Regions from separate parts of the Homo sapiens genome. Here regions 1, 2, 4 and 5 are each linked to region 3. The links are contacts of gene promoters, found by promoter capture Hi-C in blood cells and fetal thymus (Javierre and others, 2016). All regions are on one chromosome and are shown on one strand. The core of a region is centred on a gene start or on the middle of the fragment in contact, and the rest is flanking DNA. Distances in the headings are between cores, read along the strand shown.

Region 1 (2,700 bases), core at 130-2,629, 250 kb before region 3:
ACTGATATGCATGTATTAATTTCAATAAGAGAGTTTCTCCTGTTTACCTCAATCACAGTTTATTCCTTTCACATTTAAAGCTCTATGCCTTGGTAGAAAAAATGAGCTGGGGGGGAGGTGGTATTTTCACAAGACAGGTTGACGATAATCATGGAAGACTTCAAATGAAGCCTTTTCACCGCTGCTCTGGGCTCACGTATCCAACATATGCCAATGTTTACAAGCACTCCACCCCAAATATGAAACTTCTACTGGAACTCAAATGAAAGAATCATACATTTGAATTCATGAAGCTTCCATCATTTTTGTTGAATGTAAAAAAAAGTACCTGAAAAGAATTATAGATTTGTGCTTGGCACTTATGATCACTTAAGAGTCTGAGATTTTACTTCAAACTTTGTTTAGAGAGCTGGTGATAAAGATAGTGATGAAATAGCCACAGATATTGCAATCTTATTTTTTTTAAGATGGAGTCTTGCTCTGTCGCTCAGACTGGAGTGCAGCGGCACAATCTTGGCTCACTGCAACCTCTGCCTCCCAGGTTCAAGCGATTCTCCTGCCTCAGCTTCCTGAGTAGCTGGGATTACAGGCACCCACCACCACACCCAGCTAATTTTTTATTTTTAGTAGAGATGGGGTTTCACCATGTTGGCCAGGCTGGTCTTGAACTTCTGACCTCGTGATCCGCCCACTTCGGCCTCCCAAAGTGCTGGGATTAGAGGCATAAGCCACCACTCCTGGCCAGCTATTGCAAAATTTTATTTGACTCTAGTAACACTGAGTTATTTTGCCAATGAAGAAACAGGTTCTGTGGGTATCAAGACTGAAGCAATGGCTGCAGATTAAAATGAACAGAACCATCTCTGGATGCATACTTCTTAAAAGATACCTGTGCCTTTGTTAGCTCTGGAAGAAATCACAACAGAATTCCATGCAACAGGGATGCCCATGTGGGACTTCTGTCGATTAGAGAAAGGTACCTCTTTCCTTAAGGTGGACATCATCCCACTGCAGGGCACATTCCTTGGTGACTGGATCCAAGGCCAGATTTCTGTCCCCACCCACTCAACCCTTTAGTTTGGCTCCCTTGTGCAGTTAACAACCTATGCAACCAGGTGTGGCAGCTCTGTCAAACAATCAGACATTTCTCATGTTTTTAGCTATCTTCTCTGATTCTTTCATGATATGTGACTGCAATTCAGTGGGAGTTTTAGGCCTCTAAGATGCATAGAATTGCACTTTGGAACCAAGCTGGATACATATCTTCTACTTTGGCTGTAAATATACTTCTGAAGGTAAAACATGAAAAGAAGCGGATGATTTCCTGACAAAACCATCCCATACAGTATATTAAGAAAGCATATACATTGTAACCTCCGGTGGGTTCAGAAAAACAATACAGCTTCTTAAGACTACTAAAAATTCTAAGTTGGCTTCAGGGCCGAGAAAAAGAATATGAATACAATACTTCGGAAGGAGGAAAAGTCATTTATAAACCCTAAGTGCTTCTGTCATTCTGCTTGCATAATAGGTGTACAGCAACTCAAGATGCTAACCACAATTATGTATACTTGCTCTCTTTAAATGTTTGTGGAGTTATATGGCAAATACAAAGACTGCAATTGTATGCTAAAAAGAAATTCAAATATGGGAAGTTAGATGGCTTTTCGGAAGTCATGGTGAGCAATAACAACCAACGAAAAGACTTTGGTCAAACAAAGGAAATATGTGAAGGCTTCTCAAAGCACAATTTCTGACCTGACATTTTTCAAGAAGCAATCTTCTCACCACACCCTTTGCCCGGGGTTTATTAAAGAGTCATTTCAAAAAGCACTTCTTTCTCTTAAAAAAAAAAAAAAAGTGGGATGTAGCAAAGATGATTATATATCCCAAATCTACAACTTTCCTCATTTAGAAGAAGGCCAAGAGATGATAAAAAATGTCGCTGAATGTCTCAGTCTTAAGGTCACAAATACATAATTGCATACTAAGATAATACAAAATGATCACTGCAAGACAATTTCATTTCAACCAGTCAGTTTGTTACACACATGCCATTTTGTAAGACATATCATAGGAACAATGGATTCGCACCATCAGTGTAAGAAATAATATTCTTTTTGACATCAGACTAGCAACTTGAATCAACTTGTTTGAAAGTCATTACTATCATCTAGCTCACTTTCTCAATCACCGCAGCGGCTCCAAAATGTTTTTCAAATGAAATGAGAACTCCTAACTGCAGGATTCAAGTAGCTTTGCTTTTGATTTCTTTTAGATTACTTTCCTCATCACACCATACCTGTCCTTTTTGTACACTGAGCCCTCTCTTTTGCCCCTTCCCCTGACCTGTTGCCTTCACCATGGCTGTCTCCTCCAGTTATAATTTCCAGTCCCCGAGAAACACAAACAAAAGAAGGCATTTGTTTAAACTAAAAGAAACTACGGTATTCCAGATAAGCTTGGTTCCCCAACTTTTGGTAACCCTCAAGTTCTCAAACATCTTTCACCCTCTCACTGTACTTATTTGTGCTTTATTTAGGTTAGGTGTATGACATTAATATAATTCATAATCATTGGCAGATTATGCTTTTTCCAACACTTTTGAGGCCATTTATTGTTTATTGAAATCCAAGTAATCTTATGAAAAAGAGAAAATAAGGAGGTTAATAATTTATCCAGAACCATCAACTAAAATCA
Region 2 (2,700 bases), core at 4-2,503, 140 kb before region 3:
AGCCTGAACTAAGACAGCTGTATATGGAAAGTGTCAGATTTTTTTTTTTTCCACAATTGCATGTTTGGTATACATTAAGCCTCTAGTAATGTACATGTACACTTGTAGTCCACGTTATGTAAATTCATTTGATAATCATTGATCAAGTATCTACTATGTAGTATACTGTAGATGTTATTTTGCAAAAGTATTAGAGAAAAAAATTTGAAAATATTTGAAAATCAAATCAGCCTCTGATATTGACCCTCATTTTCTTCGTTAAGTTTTGTCTGACCTACTAAGCTATAGGAAAACTTTATCTTAACATATTTGGCCAAATCCTTGGTACAAAGAAAAAATGTTTGTACGTGTTAAGGCCACAGACTTACAGTGTGTTTTTTTCCTCTAGTACTATTATAATAAGTTAACATATTTCCCCTATATGCGGAAAATGCTGACTATATCTTTTGGTTGCTTTGGAACACTATCTCCTCACAACAGTCCTTGTCTACAGAAATGGGAAAGGGAAGGACACATTTTGGTTTCTGCAACATGGCAACATTCGTAAAACCAGAAATGATGTGTGACAAGAAACTAAAGAACTAGACGAAATTCACTTCCATTCACCCTGGTTAAAGCTTCCTTGAATCAGAGATAAGAAACAACATGAAAAATCTATTCCTTTTAGAAAACAAGTCTTTAACCCAGAGGTTGGTTTATTTTGAAAAGGAATTAGACTCTGGGCCCACATACCGCTCGTTCAAAATATAATGCTGTGGTTTCAACTCCTGCTAAATGTTGCTGTGACTTTTAAGCAGAGAACTTCTAAAAGGAAGTAACCTAGGGAGGGGCTGATATAACTCAGACATCAATAATTCATTTTATTGGAAATAGGAGTAGTAGTATGAAATGCTAGCAGACTGTTTCATTTGCAGGGAGGCATTTTCTATTTTAAGCCTAGAACAATGCAGTCAGCTTTATTTGGCAAGCTAATATGAATGGAGGCAAAGCTGAATCGAAGGATGGGTTTTTATGATCTCCTCTAATCACGCTATTTCTTTAGCATCAGTTATTTAAGTCTGACATACCACCATTTGGGAACTTGCAAAAGTGACGAGAAAGGGATTTTTATAACTTTTGTACTTCAGAGGTGATTTCCTTCACTCCAAAGCCTTGGCACTAGAAATGTAATCATGCAAGTCTAAGAGATGATTTGCATAGTTTTGAGGCTAGATCCTCTGTTAGTACTAAAAACCCTTCAGGCATTAGAGTTTCTTACTAAATTTTCTCCCAATTCAGCCCATTAATAATCTATACTATTTCATCATTGATTCCCCAGGTATTTAGCACAGAGCCACTCGCCAAGCAGCGTCTTAATGAATACTGCTTGAATGAATAAACAAACGCAGGCAAGTATGACATAATTCCAAATATGTTCTGAAGCCTACTGGTCTGATTGTTCAGTGAGGAGGCATTTGCATAGCACATGCCTCAACTTCCTTATTCTGATGATAATTACAAATTCCTCACCTTCACTATTTTATATCAAATTCAAGGACTCATGCTCTACTAAGGGAGATGGGAAAATGGAATTAAAGAAAAGCAGATTTACTGTAGACGGAAAAGAGCCACAGCTCCCAGCCCCAAGGAAGCAGACAAACCTATCTCAACTTCTAACCCTGGAAATAAACCTTAAGTCCCCCAAGGACGCAGACAAACCTATCTCAACTTCTAACTCCGGAAATAAACCCCAAGTCTTAATTTAAATTTGAAGTGTTCATAGGCACACATATTTTGAGATAACTGTAATTTTTAACTAGTTATTTATCAAGAATTAGATATATGAATAGAACACACAATTATAATAATAACAACTGTAATTATGTAGCATCTATTATGTAGTAAGCTTGGTATTTTACACATTTTATTGATAATCTTTAGAGGTATTTTATTATTATTATTTTTTGAGACAGGGTCTCGCTCTTTCGCCCAGGCTGGAGTGCAGTGGCACAATCTTGGCTCACTGCAACCTTGACCTCCTAGGCTAAAGCAATCCTTCTATCTCAGCCTCCCAAGTTTCTGGGACCACAGGTGCATGCCACCACACCTGGCTATTTATTTATGTATTTAGTAGAAACAGGGTCTCCCTATGTTTCCCAGGCTGGTCTCAATCTCCTGGACTCAAGTGATCCTCCAGCCTTGGCCTCCCAAAGTACTGGGATACAGGTGTGAGTCACTGTGCCCAGCCTAGAGGGAAGTATTATTATGCCCATTCTAGAGACTTTTTAGAAAGTACTGAAAGCTCAGTTGTTAGCTCAAAAGACCATAAAGATAATCAAGGAGAGCCAAGGCTAAAAGTCAACTTCTCTAAACTACAAAGCTACTCATTTCCTAACTCTAGGTGGCCACTATCCAAACAGAGTTATCTATCTGTGGATTCATGCTTAAAGATAGATCCATTGATCATATCCATTATTATGGTCTAATGAGCAAAGAGGGCATTTTAATCCTAAATGCCTGACTACATGCTCTTGGTCAGCTGAGAAAAAAAATCAGGCAGAACTACTGAGAGGAGCTAAAGGTAAATCTATACCCTCGGCACTGCTGACTTCCATAAAACAGAGGCAGGGAGTGCTGGTGTTACACCTGTGAAAATTCCCTATTTCACCGTCAGGATGGCAAACCTAAGCACACACTGGGAACAATGTCTGTGTCCTCCAA
Region 3 (2,700 bases), core at 159-2,658:
CCCAGCCAGCCGGTTTCGGAAGTTTCCCACCTCCCCACTACAACTCCCTTCCGGGAGCCCCCACGCGGACCTCGCTTAAGGCGAGAAAGCCTAGAGGTCTCCCCTAAATCTGCACTCACACCGGGGCCGGCCCCCTCTTCCCTCCCCCTCCTTTCTCCTCCCTTCCAGCTCCAGTCCCCGCGCCTCCGGAGTCTCCAGCGCCAGAGGTTCTCTCGCCCAAGAGGAAACTTCTTTCTGGGCTAAATTCAGGTCCGAGCAGGAAAGGCTTTCCCTTCCCCGCAGGCATCAGAGGCGCGCTCACCCCCTATCCCCCAAAAGACCTAATTTCCCCCTCTCCCCACGATCACCCTCTCTGAGACTGCCTCAGATTACTAGTGCTACTCGACTTTTCAGGTCAAAAGGTCCAGCCGTCTCTGAAGCCACCACGGGGGCACTCTGGATTTTTCCCGAGACCCTACCAGTCCCGCGTGGCTTGGAAAAGACAAGTAAACAAAACACGGACCCGGCAACTCTGGGGTGTGTGTGTGTGTGTGTGTGTGTGTGTGTGTGCGTACGCGCGCGCGCGCAGGAGACAGAGCATCGCCCAAGAGTTAGGGCAACAGCTGCTAGAGCACATCTGGAAGAGGGGGAGGGGGTTCCACGCAGAGGGGACAAGAAGCCCCCAGTGGCTTCAGGGCCGAGGGCTGGGCTAGCCTGTAGTTCGTTACCTGTCCTATGTTGATGAATCCGTACTTGCTGGCGATACGGTTGGCCTCCGGGAAGCCCCCGGCGATTTTGACTGCCCAGTGGTTGGTGTAGACGCGCGTCCGACACACGGGGAGCAGGCAGCCCCCGAGCAGCGCCAGCACGCACAGCAGGTCCAAACGTCCCGGGCAGCAGCAGCGGCTCCCCCAGCCCATGGTCCCGGCGCCTCGCTGCTCCCTCGCTCGCTGGCTGGTTCCGCGCACTAAGGGCGCGCACAACTAACTTCTCCGGCCTGCGCCGCCCGGCGAGCAGCCCCGGGCCGCCGCAGCTCGCAGCCCCGGGCGATCGGCAGGAGGCGGCTAGCCCCGGCAGGGAGCAGAGCAGCGAGCCTTACGCCGGCTCCTAGACCATCCCTGGGGCTGCCGGGACCTGTGCTCCCAGCTCTCCGGCCCGTGGGGCGCTCGGCGATGCTCCCCGGCTCGGACGCAGGAGGAGGCTGAGTGGGGCGGGCGTCCTCCGCAGTTGGGTTTCGCCCGGCTTGGCTCCCGGACTCTCCGACTCGGTCTCGCTCCTCCCGGGGCCCCCGAGCGCGGCGGAGATGACCAGCGGGAGCGGTACAGGCAGCGACCGGGCGCCCCCTCTGCTGGCCCGGGCTCCAAACGCTCGCTTGCTCGCTCCCAGCGCTCCCTCCGGCTCCGAGCAGCGCGCGAGGATTCTGAGTGGCAATGGCAGCAGCTCCTGCTCTGCATAAATGACTTCCCCCGCCCCCCTTAACACCCCTCCTTTCCCACATCGCCCTCCTCCTCTCCCTCCTCCGCCCTCTTGAAAGCGGCCGCAGCCAGGCGCTGACGAGGTCCTAGCGCCTCCGGGTTCGCCCAGCTGTAACCTCCAGGGTTCCGGGCAGTAAAGGCAAGTCTTTCCAAAGGACTGAGAAGAGCGCTCCGAGATCGTGGTTTTACTCCCTTCTCTTCCCTCCCTGCTGGATTTGTATGAATTTACCGCCACTTCCCGAAAGACTAAAGAAATTTACACGCCGGTGCGAATTAACCGCCCTGAAGATTCATTCATCCTCGTTCTAAACGTCCTTAAATAACTAGGCATTTAAGGAGGTCACTTACGTGTCAATTGCCGAACAAATAACTCGAGATTTTCACTTCGTTAATTCTTCATGCTTTTCAGCAGCTGTTTATTTTACACTTTCTGCTCCCGGGAGAAGCTACCACACAGGACAGTAAGTCGCATCGACTCCTAGAATTGGCTCGAAAGCCAAGTCTGTTGCCTGCTCACTTTCGAAATCTGCGATACTAGGCAACGCCACGGGAGAGTACAATTCCGGCCTTGGAAGTGAGGAAAGATGTTTCTATGAATATTTGGTGTGCTAGTGGATGGACATGTTGGGCCAAGGAAATAACTCCATTCATTTGTTGGATTGCGTCTGACGAGGGCTTCTTTTTCTCCACCAAGGGAAAAGTTTCCCAACTTTTCCAAGCACAGTCCTGTAACAGTGAAAGACTTTAATATGAAAAAGACCACAGAGGAAGTTCAGATGAGATATGTGGCGGCGTCACCTTCATTACTCTATCATGCACTGTGACTGCAGCAGGCAGGAGGGAGCTCAAATTAACCCTCTTCTCGCTTCTCCTTTACAACCTCCCTGCCTTCCTGGAGCGGGGGTGGGGCACAGGGTGATTTACTGTGACAAGAAAAATTATCCCGTATGAAATAATTCAACTGACTTTAAAAGTATTCACTATATCCCTAACTGTCCTCCTTTCTCTCCTCCTACCATGCCCTATTTCTTTCTTCCTGTTAATTTAAATGTGTTTGAGATTAATTAACTCATCCCACCTATAGCTTTTGGTACTGATTTTTTAAAATCTGAAAGATACCTGCAGACTTAAAATTCCACTAGTACCTTTGAGCATAGCATTTGACATTTTACATATTGTATAAGGTATGCTATATTATTTAATCTTGAAAACAAACCCACAAAATAACATCATCCCCACATTATAG
Region 4 (2,700 bases), core at 159-2,658, 220 kb before region 3:
TGTCTGTGTATATGTAGACATAACAAAGCTATTTTCATGCACAGTCCTGGCAGAAGGCCCGTGGTAACTGCTCTTTGGGTCTGGTTACAATTATTTCACTATAGGGAATAGTTCAGGACAGTACATCCCTTCTCTGTCCGCTAGGCCTCAAGTCGAAATGTGCATTGTTTTTACCTTATAAACCTTTTCAGCTCTCCTCCCTTGTTTTCTTTTAATTCTCTTCACCCTCTTCAGGCTGTATACCCCAAGCATTCATACCAGAAATTTCAGCAAAATTTTAAGCCCAACATACAACACTCCAATACACAAAAAAACTCTAAGAGTATATGAAAGGAAGGGTGTGTGGAATACCTGCTTCTTTACCCTTGTAACTGTGTGGAATCAGGGCACATATGCTTGTATTTCTCTCTGTGCAAGTACTTTCTAAGTTCTAATTGAAATAAATAAAACTCTCTTAAAAGGAAAAGCTTGGTATGCCCTCTGCAATTTTACCTCAATAAGCAAATACACTTGTGCTCCCTGCCCACTGCAGCATCTCATAGAGTTGAATGTGGCCCTCGGGAAAATTTTTAATGAGACATTTTATACTAAAATGTGTTTTTAATTTAAAAAAATACACAGATGATAAGACTAGTTTACAGGATATCAGTACTAAGATGCTAACCCCAATATTAAGAAATGTTTATGTCTATCCTTCCTATGTGGCCTCCCTTAACAGTGCTCAGTTCTAAAAATATGAAGCACCCCTCGCCCCAGTGAGTACTTCAACTCAGAGCTGGCTTGTTTAAAACTCCAGAACCCTTCTCGACTGTCCCACATATTAACTTCTCACAGTCACTGTATCCCAAATATTCTGGTCATTTCCCTACAATTTTCCAACGCTGGAAACATGTAGGTAAGAGAGATTATAATGAAAGGTGAAACAAAGACATAGAGTGGTTGATTCATCTGAATTATGTAAGATTTATATAGACGGACTTTTTAGGTTTACAAGAAATGCAGATGGTCAGTTTAATTTCCTGAGAAAATTTTCAAGATGTGATTTGTGAAATCAACAGCATACGGTGTGAATCATCCTTTGGCTCAACACTCCTTTAACTTCTCACACTTTGACCTTTCCTTGTCTCGAATGATCCCTTCCTCCAAAGACAAAAGGTAGAGGGGATTCCCTTGGAAGGTGAGAGAGGGAATAACATTCATGTCTTTATTTTAGCCAGGTGAGGTCCACTTCTAGCAAATGATAAATCAACAGGATGAGAGACGAGTTGAGGCAGTATGGGAGAAAGAAGTCACTAATGAATATCAACTAAAGGATATGGACGGTAAAAGTAACTAATTGAGCAATTGAACTTCTCTAGGACTCAGTTCCATTGTACAAAAGGTAAGGTTGGACTAGACGAATTAATTTAATATTTGTTGAGAATGGACCTTGTTCAAAACATTATGCTTAGGTGTCGTGGAGGATACAAATTTCTATGGAACCAATGTTCCAATTTGAATCATCAAAGCTGGGCATTTTTATTTTCATCCAAGTCCTGCACCCCCTACAACCCTTCCCCCAGAACGATTTCATTGACTTCCTTAAATAATTTGCATATATCTGTTAGTGTACATTTGCTTCCCTAATGAGAATATAAAATCCCCTGAAAGCAAGTGATATATAATATTTTATACATATTTGAATTATGTCCTGAGTAACTTAGTGCCTAGTATGATGCTTTAATTTTTTTGTAGTGTTCAATATATTTGTTATATACTCATAAATAAAGATAAGATATAATCCTTACTCTCAAGGAATTTAAATTTAATTTGCAATAGGAGGGAAAAGATAAGTAATAAGGAGAAAGTAGGTGAGCCTACCTAGAAACATGTGAATGTGTATATGTCTGTGTATATATAAGATACCAGAGGCAGCTAATGTTCAATATGCACCAGGTGTATTTCTACTGTAGAAGAGCAGCTGTTAGTTTAATTTATTTTCTAAATTTAGATCTAGATATATTGGGTTTTCTCACAGCAGGGTATTCTTGTGGCCTCTGAGATATGAAATGTAAGAAAAAGGCTTTGCGGTCATTTAAAGCAAGAATTTGTACGAGATTCTTTATACCAATACCCTTTTAGGAAGTTTTAGATAATTTCAGAAGTTTCAACCTGACTCAGTCCCCTTTATTTACCATTCACTGTATAGTGTAACATTTCTTGATTACTGAACATATATTCTTCAATTTTCCAATGAAAGACCCTTTGCAATTAGAAGCAGAAAGGTTTCTTTGATGAACTTAATTTTTGTATTTTCTGAGTTGATGCTGATATTGTTACATATGAAATATTCCACTAAAATAAGCTTTTCATTGCTAATAATTGCAGATGGGTGAGGAAAACTTTCAGTACAACTTATTATTCTGAGCACTCTGTACTTTCATGAATGTTAGTTATTTTGACTTTATTTTATAAACAATTTTATAGAAAACATCATTTAACAGCAAGCTCTTTTATTTTTTTCCCCCTGATAGATCTATAGCACTGGGAACATATACTAGGACCTAGATGCAAAACACTTTTCAAACATAAGGTGTTCTGCCAGGTTGCTAAGCTAAAATTAGTACAGCCATCTTTCATTTTGGTTTTTCATTTAATAAACCTGCTTCCTTGCATACTCATTTTATTTGAACTTTTTGAGTTAGGCTATGTAAAAAGACA
Region 5 (2,700 bases), core at 85-2,584, 200 kb before region 3:
AATTTAGAGCAACATCAGCAAAGTAGATAGCACTAAATGGATTGTTCCATATTAGGAAACTGATAACATTAAGTAATAGGCCCAGTATCATATAACTAGGACGTGGTAGAGACAAGAGGTCGAGACCCTGCATCTGATCAGAACCTCTGGATCTGTATATGTCGACTTGAAGAGACACAACAAAACAACTTTGGAATGAGGCACTTCCACTCATCCGTGATGTCTCGCAAGCACCGCCTCAATACCCAACTTATCAAAGCCCCTTGTCATTCCACTCCCCATCTTTTTTGATATTCTTCCTCTCGGGGAGAAAAGAGCACAGTCCTCTGTGTAAGCTCTTTATGCCATGGTTATTCCGTACTCCATATTACCTGGATAAAGGGGGATCCAGGGATAAGGGGAAGAAGTTGGAGAGAGACAAGGACACTTACTACTAATGACTTAGTAGCTAAGAAATAAAGAACTGTTCCTATTTTTAAAGCTCAAGGACATTCTGACTAGCATTTCCGAAATAAATCTTGTTGCTTTATAGAACAGCGTTCATTGAAAGAAATAGATCTCATCTAGAAACATAATGTAAAGACCAAAAAAAAAAAAAAAAAATTAAAAAACCTCACGAACACCACCAAAACCCCCTTTAAAAACTACTGTTTTTTGTAGCACTCACACAAAACGTTTGTTCCAGAATTCTGAAACATATTGCTTCTTTAAGCAATTTAAATAACTTTTTGATAACATTTATCATAACTTGGTGGGAGAAAGCATTCTTGGTGATGCACAGAGATAATGTAGTCGTGGTAAAGGTGTATGAAGACATCTATGGGATAAGAGCTTACTTAAGCCCCAGACTTGTTTTTTCAATCAGTTCATCCGAGTAAGATGGAGCTGAGGTTAGGGAAATTAATTATATGGAATCGAGTTAAGACTCAGGGAATAAGATCATCCATCCCCTCAAAAAATCCACAAGTAACTTGAATGAGACAATATGAGATGTTTTGTCCAATGCAATGTAGAGAGTATCCAGGTTTCTCTTGTTCTGCTTCTACACTTCGAATATTTCATAATTGTGCTCTCAGAATAACTAAGGTAAACAGAGGAACTATTATATGTATTTTAAAGCAAACGCTCATTAATTATGCTTTATTTATTTGGTGATTTGAGTAAAGGAAACAGTTCATTAATTCCACTTGTTTCCAAGCAAAAATTCCAGGATTAAAAATGCTTACCAATGGAAAGCAACAGCTCCCTAAAGCTGATCTCAGCAACCAGCCAACAACCAGTGAGTGGTCTCCACCAGCACCTGCTGATGTCCAGCACTTCCAGCAGCCCAGTTCCTGGCCCTGCTACTGGTCTCAATCTTTACGCACCTGCTTTAGCCTGTCAGCTGCCAGACCCACACATGCAGCCTAAGAGACACTCTAAGGAAGGGCTGTCTAAACATCCTCAGACTGGCTTCCAGACAACACTGTATGGGAGTACCTTCATTATTCACATTCTATGCTACTTAGCCACTCAAAAGATGGCTGATGAGAGAGATGGGAAATACAAATGCAGTTATTTTCTACTTCTCTGGTGAGAAAAATGGAGCAAAGAAGGCTTTTGTGGATAGTAACCTATTTCTGCTCATTTCTGTCTTCTTGCCATTTCTTATGCGACATGACTTCACTCCCTCCTCTTCCTCCACATCTGAACCTCACCAATCTATCTTTTCAGCCCCATACCAGGTAGTCCGTATTATGATTTTCTGTGCACACAATAGGTCACTAAACCAAGAAATTTTTAATGTTCTTTTGACTTTTTAATGATGCACTGAAGTTATCAGATGCAGTTATTAGCAATCATATTAATTTTACCATTCACAAATGAAAATCCATTTTCTGTGCTTCCTGAGCATATCAAATGCAGCCGACCTCACTTTCAAAAAAATAGAGAGCCTAATAATGACTATAGGATCAACTGTAAATGACAAAATTTTAAGTGCCATTTATAAGCTACTTTTAGTCATGATATTGTTCATATCCTAGTCCATGAATGGAGAGCACGTTGCACTGAATTTAGGGACTTCAGGTCAGTTTTCTAAAGTGACACTTGGAAATGGTGAGTAAGGTGGTCAAAGACTAGTGTCAAGGACAATGAATCAGTGCTGCAAATACAGAACTTGCCTACAACCCTATCATTAGCTAATTTTATGTTTATTGTGTGAATAGAAAGAAAAAAATTGAGTTACTTATCCACCATATCTGCTAGAATATAAATTTGGTAGAACATCAACTCACAAAAGGCTTAGTAGAATCAATTTCCTTATCGGAGATGCCCTTTCTTCATAAGGGTTGATTGACACTGAGGATTTACACACTTAACACTGCTTCTTAACTTTATCAAAACAGTGTACAAGTTGGTGTGACCCTTGGCTCCTGACAGCAATATCACAATTGTGTAGATTTCTTTTACTTTGTTTATTTTCACAGTATAACTGGAAGAAGAAAATCAGTCTTACATGGAGAAAGAATAGTAGAATACGTGTGATGAAATAAAAACTGGGTGTGTTTACCAATGGAAATAAATATGCTTTCATACAAAGAATTCTATTTTGATGAACCTTTAGATATTCTGTATATTCAGGAACTTCAAATAATACAATTTTGGAGCTGAATAATGTCCTATGGATATTATGTAAAGTTGGACACATAAAAGCTTCAT

The links. The method cuts DNA at HindIII sites, captures the fragments that hold promoters and counts their contacts. A CHiCAGO score of 5 or more calls a contact.
Region 1: a fragment that was not itself captured here is called in contact with the fragment with the promoter of PCSK5 in region 3 in 1 of 17 cell types (non-activated CD4 T cells); the score reaches 5.0 in non-activated CD4 T cells.
Region 2: a contact is called between a fragment that was not itself captured here and the fragment with the promoter of PCSK5 in region 3, in 2 of 17 cell types (fetal thymus and non-activated CD4 T cells). The highest score is 6.1, in fetal thymus.
Region 4: a contact is called between a fragment that was not itself captured here and the fragment with the promoter of PCSK5 in region 3, in 1 of 17 cell types (non-activated CD4 T cells). The highest score is 5.2, in non-activated CD4 T cells.
Region 5: a contact is called between a fragment that was not itself captured here and the fragment with the promoter of PCSK5 in region 3, in 1 of 17 cell types (non-activated CD4 T cells). The highest score is 5.1, in non-activated CD4 T cells.

The regions. Positions count from the first base shown.
Region 1 is chr9:76,142,889-76,145,588 of GRCh38, reverse strand. All of the region lies in intron 10 of PCSK5 (proprotein convertase subtilisin/kexin type 5), which reads right to left. Among named protein-coding and RNA genes, the nearest start is that of RFK, 250 kb to the left of the region's middle. The HindIII fragment of the contact is 2,168 bases long and covers 296-2,463 here.
Region 2 is chr9:76,030,934-76,033,633 of GRCh38, reverse strand. All of the region lies in intron 5 of PCSK5 (proprotein convertase subtilisin/kexin type 5), which reads right to left. Among named protein-coding and RNA genes, the nearest start is that of PCSK5, 140 kb to the right of the region's middle. The HindIII fragment of the contact is 1,268 bases long and covers 620-1,887 here.
Region 3 is chr9:75,889,381-75,892,080 of GRCh38, reverse strand. PCSK5 (proprotein convertase subtilisin/kexin type 5) reads right to left here and starts at 1,408. Exons shown (of 38, transcript NM_001372043.1): 1 at 708-1,408. The coding sequence starts at 899. The HindIII fragment of the contact is 12,342 bases long and covers 1-2,700 here.
Region 4 is chr9:76,111,686-76,114,385 of GRCh38, reverse strand. All of the region lies in intron 9 of PCSK5 (proprotein convertase subtilisin/kexin type 5), which reads right to left. Among named protein-coding and RNA genes, the nearest start is that of PCSK5, 220 kb to the right of the region's middle. The HindIII fragment of the contact is 1,877 bases long and covers 470-2,346 here.
Region 5 is chr9:76,086,834-76,089,533 of GRCh38, reverse strand. All of the region lies in intron 7 of PCSK5 (proprotein convertase subtilisin/kexin type 5), which reads right to left. Among named protein-coding and RNA genes, the nearest start is that of PCSK5, 200 kb to the right of the region's middle. The HindIII fragment of the contact is 2,725 bases long and covers 1-2,696 here.